Regions from separate parts of the Homo sapiens genome. Here all the other regions are linked to region 3. Evidence: promoter capture Hi-C in human tissues and cell types (Jung and others, 2019). All regions are on one chromosome and are shown on one strand. The core of a region is centred on a gene start or on the middle of the fragment in contact, and the rest is flanking DNA. Distances in the headings are between cores, read along the strand shown. Region 1 overlaps SDE2 (spliceosome associated SDE2). Region 2 overlaps H3-3A (H3.3 histone A). Region 3 holds the start of ENAH (ENAH actin regulator).

Region 1 (2,741 bases), core at 104-2,603, 340 kb after region 3:
GAGATCGCGCCATTGTACTCCAGCCTGGGTGACAGAGTGAGACTCCGTCTCAAAAATAAATAAATAAAGCAAAGAGTTATAGTTTGTTCAGGAAACAGAATCTGTTTCTGCTAGCTTGAGATGGAGAACAGGCAAATTTCGGAAAAAGATATTCTAGAGCTTATAAACAGAAGGAAAAAACATTTCAATGAGACTGGGACCAACTGTCCCAAAGATCCAAGAGGATCTCCTTTCTAAAGTCCTGAATCTCTAAAAGCAAAATTGATTTTGCTTAAAGCTTTCTTCCCCCGCATTACATTACCTTCGACGGTTGGAAATTAGATAAAATAATAAATAGTTGGCCGGGCGTGGTGGCTCATGCCTGTAATCCCAGCACATTGGGAGGCCGAGGTGGGTGGATCACAAGGTCAGGAGTTCAAGATCAGCCTGGCCAATATGGTGAAATCCCGTCTCTACTAAAAATACAAAAATTAGCCAGGCCTGGTGGCAGGTGCCTGTAGTCCCTGCTACTCGAGAGGCTGAGGCAGGAGAATCACTTGAACCAGGAGGCAGAGGTTACAGTAAGCCATCATCGCACCACTGCACTCCAGCCTGGGGGACAGAGCAAGACTGTCTCAAAAAAAAAAAAAAAATAATAATAATAATAATAAATAGTTATAAAGAAAATCCATCCGGGCATGGTGGCTAACGCCTGTAATCCCAGCACTTTGGGAGGTTGAGGTGGGTGGATCACTTGAGGTTAGGAGTTCAAGACTAGCCTGGCCAACATGGTGAAACACCATCTCTACTAAAAATACAAAAATTAGCCGGGTGTGGTGGCACATGGCTGTAGTTCCAACTACTGGGGAGGCTGAGGCAGGAGAATTGCTTGAATCTGGGAGGCAGAGGTTGCAGTAAGCCGAGATTGTGCCATTGCACTCCAGCTTGGGCGACAGAGCAAGATTCTGTCTCAAAAAAAAAAAAAAAAGAAGGAAAATTATTCGGTGCCGCCCCTTGATTTGATTGGTGAAAAAATATATAAAGAAAATCCTAGGAACAATTATTCTGTTTTACAGAGGTGTTTCCCAATAATAAATATTAATACACACACACACACATTTATAAATCCTATGCTTGGGCTGGACGCGGTGGCTCACGCCTATAATCCCAGCACTTTGCGAGGCTGAGGCGCGAGGATCACCTGCTCAGGAGTTTGAGACCAGCCTAGGCAACATGGCAAAACCCTGTCTTCACAAAAAAATAAAAAAAATCAGCTGGGCATGGTGGTATGTACCCTAGCCCCAGCTACTCAGGAGGCTGAGATGGGAAGATAGCTTAAACCTGGGAGGTCAAGGCTTCAGTGAGCCGAGATCGCGCCACTGCACTCCAACCTCAGCAACAGAGTGAGGAACCTGTCTCAAAAAAAAAAAAAACACACACAAAAAAAACACCCATGCTTTATTAATAATTACTCAAACCCAGAAATTACCCAAATGTCTACCAAATGGAGACTGGATAAACAAACTGTGGTACATTCACACCATGAAACGATACGGAGTGATAAAAAAGAATGAACTACTGATACATACACTACCATGGATGAATCTCTAAAGCTTTATATTAAGTGAGAGAAGCCAGACACTAAAGGCTATATGACATCCTAGAAAAGACTAAATCATAGTAACAAATATCACACTGGTGACCAATGGTTGCCAGGGTCTAGAGGTGGGGAAAAGGGACTTAACTGCAAAAGGGCACGTGGGAACTATTTCAGGTCATTAAAATACACTCTATCTAGATTGTGGTGATGGTAACGTGACTATATAGTACATATACATTTTTCAAAAGTCGTAGAACCAATCAACCAAAAAGGGTGAATTTTGCTATATATAAATTATACCTCAATAAACCTCATTAAAAAAATACAAACCACAGGTAGTGTCACCACCCTTTCTCTCAGGAACACTTAATTCCCATTTCAGAAAGAACAAACATTGTATGCTGAACTCATAGTGTTATATGATCTTTGATTAATAATTATCTGTTTATCCCCAAAGGGGATAAACTTATTTTCAAGAACTTGGCCCAAGGGAAGTCACTGGCAACAAGAGGACCAACTAGAGGGACAAGAGAACTATCAGAAAAATGGACAAGAAAAAGTACTGCTGTGCTTTTTACCCTCAAGTGCGAAAGTGGTGAAGAGAAGTCTGGCAAAGTGACCAAAGACCTCAATGATGACTGTGAAAAACCACAGACAACCACCTGGAAAGTACAGCTTGATTTCCACCTAGAATTTCTAAAAGTTAAACCCCTTCAACACCAAAAAAGTAATTCAAATATAAAGCTATTTTTATGTTTCAGTGTAAGGAAAAAATTCATCCTTTACATTCAATTAATGGCATTCACAGCAGAAACCATTACCAGTACAATGTGACAATCACTGAAACCTAAAGCTTGAAGCACTCTGGAAATTTTCTGAGCTCCCACCAAACACTACACAAAAATGTGTTTATGCCAGATAAACAAGGAGGAAATGTCTCAAGTCAGTCCTCAAAGATCAATTGGGAACGAAAGTGAAACACTTACCAGAAGCATCTCCTCTTTCCCGCACTGGCTCCTCTGTCTGTTTGAGATTTAGTAGGCCATTGCCGTTTCCGATTCTCACTGATTTCTGCTGAAACCATCTTGCTGGAGGCAGCCTGCATACCTAACCAGAAATTTTAACAACTCAGTTTCTACTATAGGGACTAAGTTTAAAGAAA
Region 2 (2,700 bases), core at 104-2,603, 420 kb after region 3:
TAAGGAACTGCCAGGCCAGTTGCGGTGGCTCACTCCTGTAATCCCAGCACTTTGGGAGGCCGAGGCAGGAGGATCACGAGGTCAGGAGATCGAGACCATCCTAGCTAACACAATGAAGCCCCATCTCTACTGAAAATTAGTCAGGCGTGGTGGTGGGCGCCTGTAGCCCGAGCTACTCGGGAGGCTGAGGCAGGAGAATGACATGAACCTGGGAGGTGGAGCTTGCAGTGAGCTGAGATCTTGCCACTGCACTCCAGCCTGGGCAACAAAGAGAGACTCCGTCTCAAAATAAATAAATAAGGAACTGCCGGGCGCGGTGGCTCACGCCTATAATCCCAGCACTTTGGGAGGCCAAGGTGGGTGGATCACGAGGTCAGGAGTTCGAGACCAGCCTGACCAACATGGTGAAACCCCTTCTCTACTAAAAATACAAAAAAGTAGCCAGGCATGGTGGCGCATACCTGTAGTCCCAGCTACTCGGGAGGCTGAGGCAGGAGAATCGCTTGAATCCGGGAGGTGGAGGTTGCAGTGAGCCGAGATCGCGCTACTGCACTCCAGCCTGGGCGACAGAGTAAGACTCCATCTCAGAAAGAAAGAAAGAAATACGGAACTAACTTGTGATATGTTCTGGAATCAAAAGTACTCTTATGATAAAACAGGTATGAAAGGGAACATAGATGAGAAGCATGTGATAAAAACCACTTGTTCACCATGTTATACTACTGGACAAGGCAGAGGTTCACATACTGTGTGAATGGGATTCAGAGTGAGGAGGAGACTAGGCTGGGATGGGGTATTTGGATTGGACATGATTGCGTTTATAAGAATGAGAGTGTTAAATTGGATTTCTTGCTTTATTTGTGACATTTCAGTTTATTAGAAATCATGTTACCATTAGAAAAATTGAAGTTTCCTAGTAACAAAGTAATTTGATTTGTGTAACTTGATAAAAGATTTACTGACTTAAGCTTTTGTTTTTTTTCATAAGCTGCTTTTGAGCTTTGTCCCACAGGTTGTAAAATGTAAGCATTTGGTAAAATTGTCAGCATCTTGCCCAGTCATTTTTTTAAAGGGTTCAAAAACCTTTTTGTTTTAATTCGTATAGTTGGGTCTTAACTATTGGAAATAACATCATCAGTAATTTTTTCTTCATTCCTTTTGCAGGAGGCAAGTGAGGCCTATCTGGTTGGCCTTTTTGAAGACACCAACCTGTGTGCTATCCATGCCAAACGTGTAACAATTATGCCAAAAGACATCCAGCTAGCACGCCGCATACGTGGAGAACGTGCTTAAGAATCCACTATGATGGGAAACATTTCATTCTCAAAAAAAAAAAAAAAAATTTCTCTTCTTCCTGTTATTGGTAGTTCTGAACGTTAGATATTTTTTTTCCATGGGGTCAAAAGGTACCTAAGTATATGATTGCGAGTGGAAAAATAGGGGACAGAAATCAGGTATTGGCAGTTTTTCCATTTTCATTTGTGTGTGAATTTTTAATATAAATGCGGAGACGTAAAGCATTAATGCAAGTTAAAATGTTTCAGTGAACAAGTTTCAGCGGTTCAACTTTATAATAATTATAAATAAACCTGTTAAATTTTTCTGGACAATGCCAGCATTTGGATTTTTTTAAAACAAGTAAATTTCTTATTGATGGCAACTAAATGGTGTTTGTAGCATTTTTATCATACAGTAGATTCCATCCATTCACTATACTTTTCTAACTGAGTTGTCCTACATGCAAGTACATGTTTTTAATGTTGTCTGTCTTCTGTGCTGTTCCTGTAAGTTTGCTATTAAAATACATTAAACTATACCTGCTTTTGGTCTTTATTATAGCCTTGCCCTACAATTATATTCCAAATAATTTCAGTATTAAGTCCTTTAATAGTCACTTTATATCTGAGACGTGAGACTTATTGAGAGAGAAGGAAAGTATAGACTTGGTGGCAAAAGGAACTTGGCTTTATTTCTAATTTTTAGAAGCTTGCCACTACCCAGTGGTCTTAACTCTTTGGATGTGTTGTCTTCTGAACCAATAATTCGAAAAGCTAATCAACAGGATCACCTGGAAATAGTGGAATCTGTAAGTAGATTGAACTTTCATGAATGTTTAATAACAAATGAGAGTGTGTAACAGTCTTTAGCTCAAAAATTAATGCATTCAAGATCTGGCTATTTTAAGATGCTCTATTAGTTAACCCTGAATTTATTCAAGCACTAATAGTTAATTCTTAGCCCTGTTTTATTTAGTGTTGGTACAATTAATGTGAAATGAGGATAATTAAACCTTCTAAGACTTTTAACACATCCCATTAGTTGTAACGTTTGAGTGTTTGAAACTGCCCTAGAAGTGATACGAAATGTTAATAACTATGCCAAGAATAGACGCATGTCAGTAAGATACGACACTGGGCTTGCATTCTTACTGCTCTTAAACATTTAGCCATAACTTAATCTTTTGACTATAGGTGACTATAAAATTCTTTAATGGGAGAATTAATTACTTTAAGAGGCTGATTTTGTTAGCATGCATCCTAGTTTTCAGTATGATCTTTTGCATGTACTTCTACAGGGAAGTACGGGTAACACTTGGAACTTTCTCAATATAAGTTACTAAAAGCCAATTGTAGTTGAATGTTCTCTGTTCAATCCAGTTTTTCAGTGCAAAAGACCAAATGGCCTTTTCATGAAACACTT
Region 3 (2,700 bases), core at 155-2,654:
ATTTCACACGAAGTCTTGCACCAATCCGAAAAGAGAAGGTTATGGACACAGAACAGGTTTAGGAAAGGCTGGAAAAAAAATCTCCAATGAATGACACACCACATCACGGTTTATTCTCCTACACAATTTGAGAAACAATAAAGAAAAATATCATACCATATGTTTCATCGTATCAATTAAAAAAATATTTTACGACAGTACATTCAATTCTTCGGGGCCGCAAAAATAATTTAGCTCCTGTTTTATTGAGTACAGAGCAAAGGGAAAAAGCAGCTGCTGCAATGCAACACAGGCTGCTACAGAGAAAGGGGAGAAAAGGCTTTTCCAAACAGATCCCTTCCCCGCCCCCGCTTACACACCCCTACCAACTTACTTATCCCAGTCTTTTACTGCCCCCACCACGTGAACCTAATCAATTCTTTCCCTTCCCCCACCATCGTGAAATTTCACCTTTCACAGCTCCTTCACCTACCCCTACCAGAGGCACTTTATTACCCGCAGAGATTTCAGACCTTTCAAACTTTTCTTCCTTTTTTAATTAAACACGAGAGTTCGGAGGCAAAAGTGCATGAAATTTTTACATATATACGAAAAAATACCTGTTTCCCAGCAACACGCACGCTTCGATTCTCGAACCCCTCCCCATCTCCCGGGTTTCGCTTGCAAAGGCTTGGGGGAGGGAGCCAGGCGCAAATTAAATTTAGGAAGGGAAATCCTGGGTGAAAGAAGAGCATTTGAGGAAAAATGAGAGAACGATGAAGCGAGACCCCCAAACCACACGGGTTGGGGAGGTTTCCAAGAAAGAAAGAGAAATTGGAAGGGACAAAAGGCGGAGGGGGGAGGAACAGACCGGAGACCAGGGGAGACGCGCCGGGCCGGGAGAGGGAAGGCGGGGTCCGAGGAGAACGGGGGTCGCGGCTCCCGCGGCACAATGGCCCGCCCGGCCCCCGCCCCGCGCGCCCCTCACCTCATGGTGCCGGCGGCGCAGAGGCTTCCCCACCAGCCGGGAGACGCAGAAGGCGCCGAGCCGAGGGGGGGGTCTCTCCTCCAGGGGTGGGGAGCAGCTCGGAGACGGGAGACAAGTGTCCGGCTCCTCCTTCGGCGGCCAGGGGGCTACACCATCTCCTCGCACAAAGCCGAGGCGCCGGCCGGGAGTGTGGGAGAAGAGGGCGAGAGAAAGGCTGGGGAGGGGGCGGAGAGGCCGAGGCGCGGAGCTGGTCCCCAGGCGGCCGCCGCCTCCCACCTCCTCGTGGTCCTGCTCCTCCTCCCGGAGCTTCCTCGGCCGCCCTCTGAGGGGTGCCCGCCGGGGCCGCGCGCCCGGCCGCCGCTCCACAGGCCCGCGCTCGCCGCGCCGCCGCCGAGGCCGTGTGCAACCGGCAGCTGCTGCAGCCGCGGGAGGAGAGTCGGGATCGCCGCGAGGAACCCGGGAGGAGGCGGGGCGCGCGGCGGAGGAACACGCAGGCGCCGCCCTCCTCCCCTCCTTCCCCCGGGGGCGAGGGGGCGGTGCGGGGGGAGGGGAGGAAAGGGGAGGCGGGGGGCCGGGCGCACTCCCCCGCGCCGGCGGCCGGGCCCCCGCCGGACTGCGGAGAGCGAGGCTGGGAGAGAGCGAGCGCGACGGCGGCGGCGGCGGAGAGAGGCTCTTTGTTGCCTCCCTACCCCGCCCCCTGCACCCCTCTGGGATTCGGGCGGGCCACCACCCCCCCCTCCCGCCCAACACCTCCGGCCAGTTGTCGGCCGGGGTTCCTCGCCCGTGGTTGTCCTTGACCGTCGGCCCCCTCCCCGTCGCCTCCCGCTCCCCAGAGGCTTGGGGAGCTCCGAGGCCTCCCCCACGGCCACGGTGCGGAGACCGAGGCGCCGAGACCTCCTGGGCGCCAGACCCGTAGGCACCGGCGTGGGGAGCTTGGACGCGTGACTGGGCACAGGGCCGGGCCAGGAGACTCCGGGTCGGCTCGCGGCCGGGTGCCCTCGCGCGGGGCGAGTGCTCAGCCCGCCCTGTTGCGGTCTCAGGACGGGGATGAGGGAATCGGGGGGCATCCCGGTCAGCCCAACTGCCCGCCCTCGCCGCGGCTGCGCCCAGCGATTCCTGCGGAGTTGAGGAGGGGCATATAAATGGAAAATATGGTCATCATTGTTCCCTTCGCTCCTTTTCTTCCCGAGGAATCCCAGCGTGCTGCGCCGATGGAACGAGTTGATGTGCACACTAGGTATAGGGATGACTTCATCCCCAAACGAACGCAGCCGACTCTCGGGGAAACGCAGTCGCCGGGAGACGCGCGCGGAACAGTGTGTTGCCGCAAGAGTGGAAGAAGAGAAACGCAGCCAGTGGAGCCGCTTTCCAGCGTCATTAGCAAAGAGGGAATCCCGGGCAGGGGGCGGGGAGAGAGAGGAACTAATGATAATTTTAAATTTTTCGTCATTCCCAATGGTCTTGAAGTCACCTCCCTTAAAAAGTAGATATAAAATACTGGCGAGGCAATTTCATTTCAAGTCAAGTCGGGGAGGAGGGCATCCAGGAAGCCAGAATTGATCGTTGTTGAAGGTTTTGTTTTCGGTTTTTTTTAAATCTAAAAACAAATCCAATAATAAAATTTTTAACTGTACGAATTACGGCCCCCTTTTAGTCCGGAAGACAGGGATGTACTTTCTGTATAAAAGGTGAGGAGGATAGAAAAGGGTTGTTGCTACAGGGATCCTATTGCT

What was found. The method cuts DNA at HindIII sites, captures the fragments that hold promoters and counts their contacts. A contact is called where the count stands out against the background at its distance.
Region 1: a fragment that was not itself captured here is called in contact with the fragment with the promoter of ENAH in region 3 in 1 of the 25 tissues and cell types used here (dorsolateral prefrontal cortex).
Region 2: a fragment that was not itself captured here is called in contact with the fragment with the promoter of ENAH in region 3 in 1 of the 25 tissues and cell types used here (hippocampus).

The regions. Positions count from the first base shown.
Region 1 is chr1:225,988,678-225,991,418 of GRCh38, forward strand. It overlaps SDE2 (spliceosome associated SDE2), which reads right to left. Exons shown (of 7, transcript NM_152608.4): 5 at 2,566-2,686. Among named protein-coding and RNA genes, the nearest start is that of SDE2, 9.3 kb to the right of the region's middle. The HindIII fragment of the contact is 3,352 bases long and covers 1-2,741 here.
Region 2 is chr1:226,070,187-226,072,886 of GRCh38, forward strand. H3-3A (H3.3 histone A) reads left to right here. Exons shown (of 4, transcript NM_002107.7): 4 at 1,165-1,833. The coding sequence ends at 1,293. Among named protein-coding and RNA genes, the nearest start is that of H3-3A, 8.8 kb to the left of the region's middle. The HindIII fragment of the contact is 4,533 bases long and covers 1-2,700 here.
Region 3 is chr1:225,651,719-225,654,418 of GRCh38, forward strand. ENAH (ENAH actin regulator) reads right to left here and starts at 1,405. Exons shown (of 14, transcript NM_018212.6): 1 at 968-1,405. The coding sequence starts at 972. RefSeq lists a silencer at 1,255-1,384. The HindIII fragment of the contact is 16,817 bases long and covers 1-2,700 here.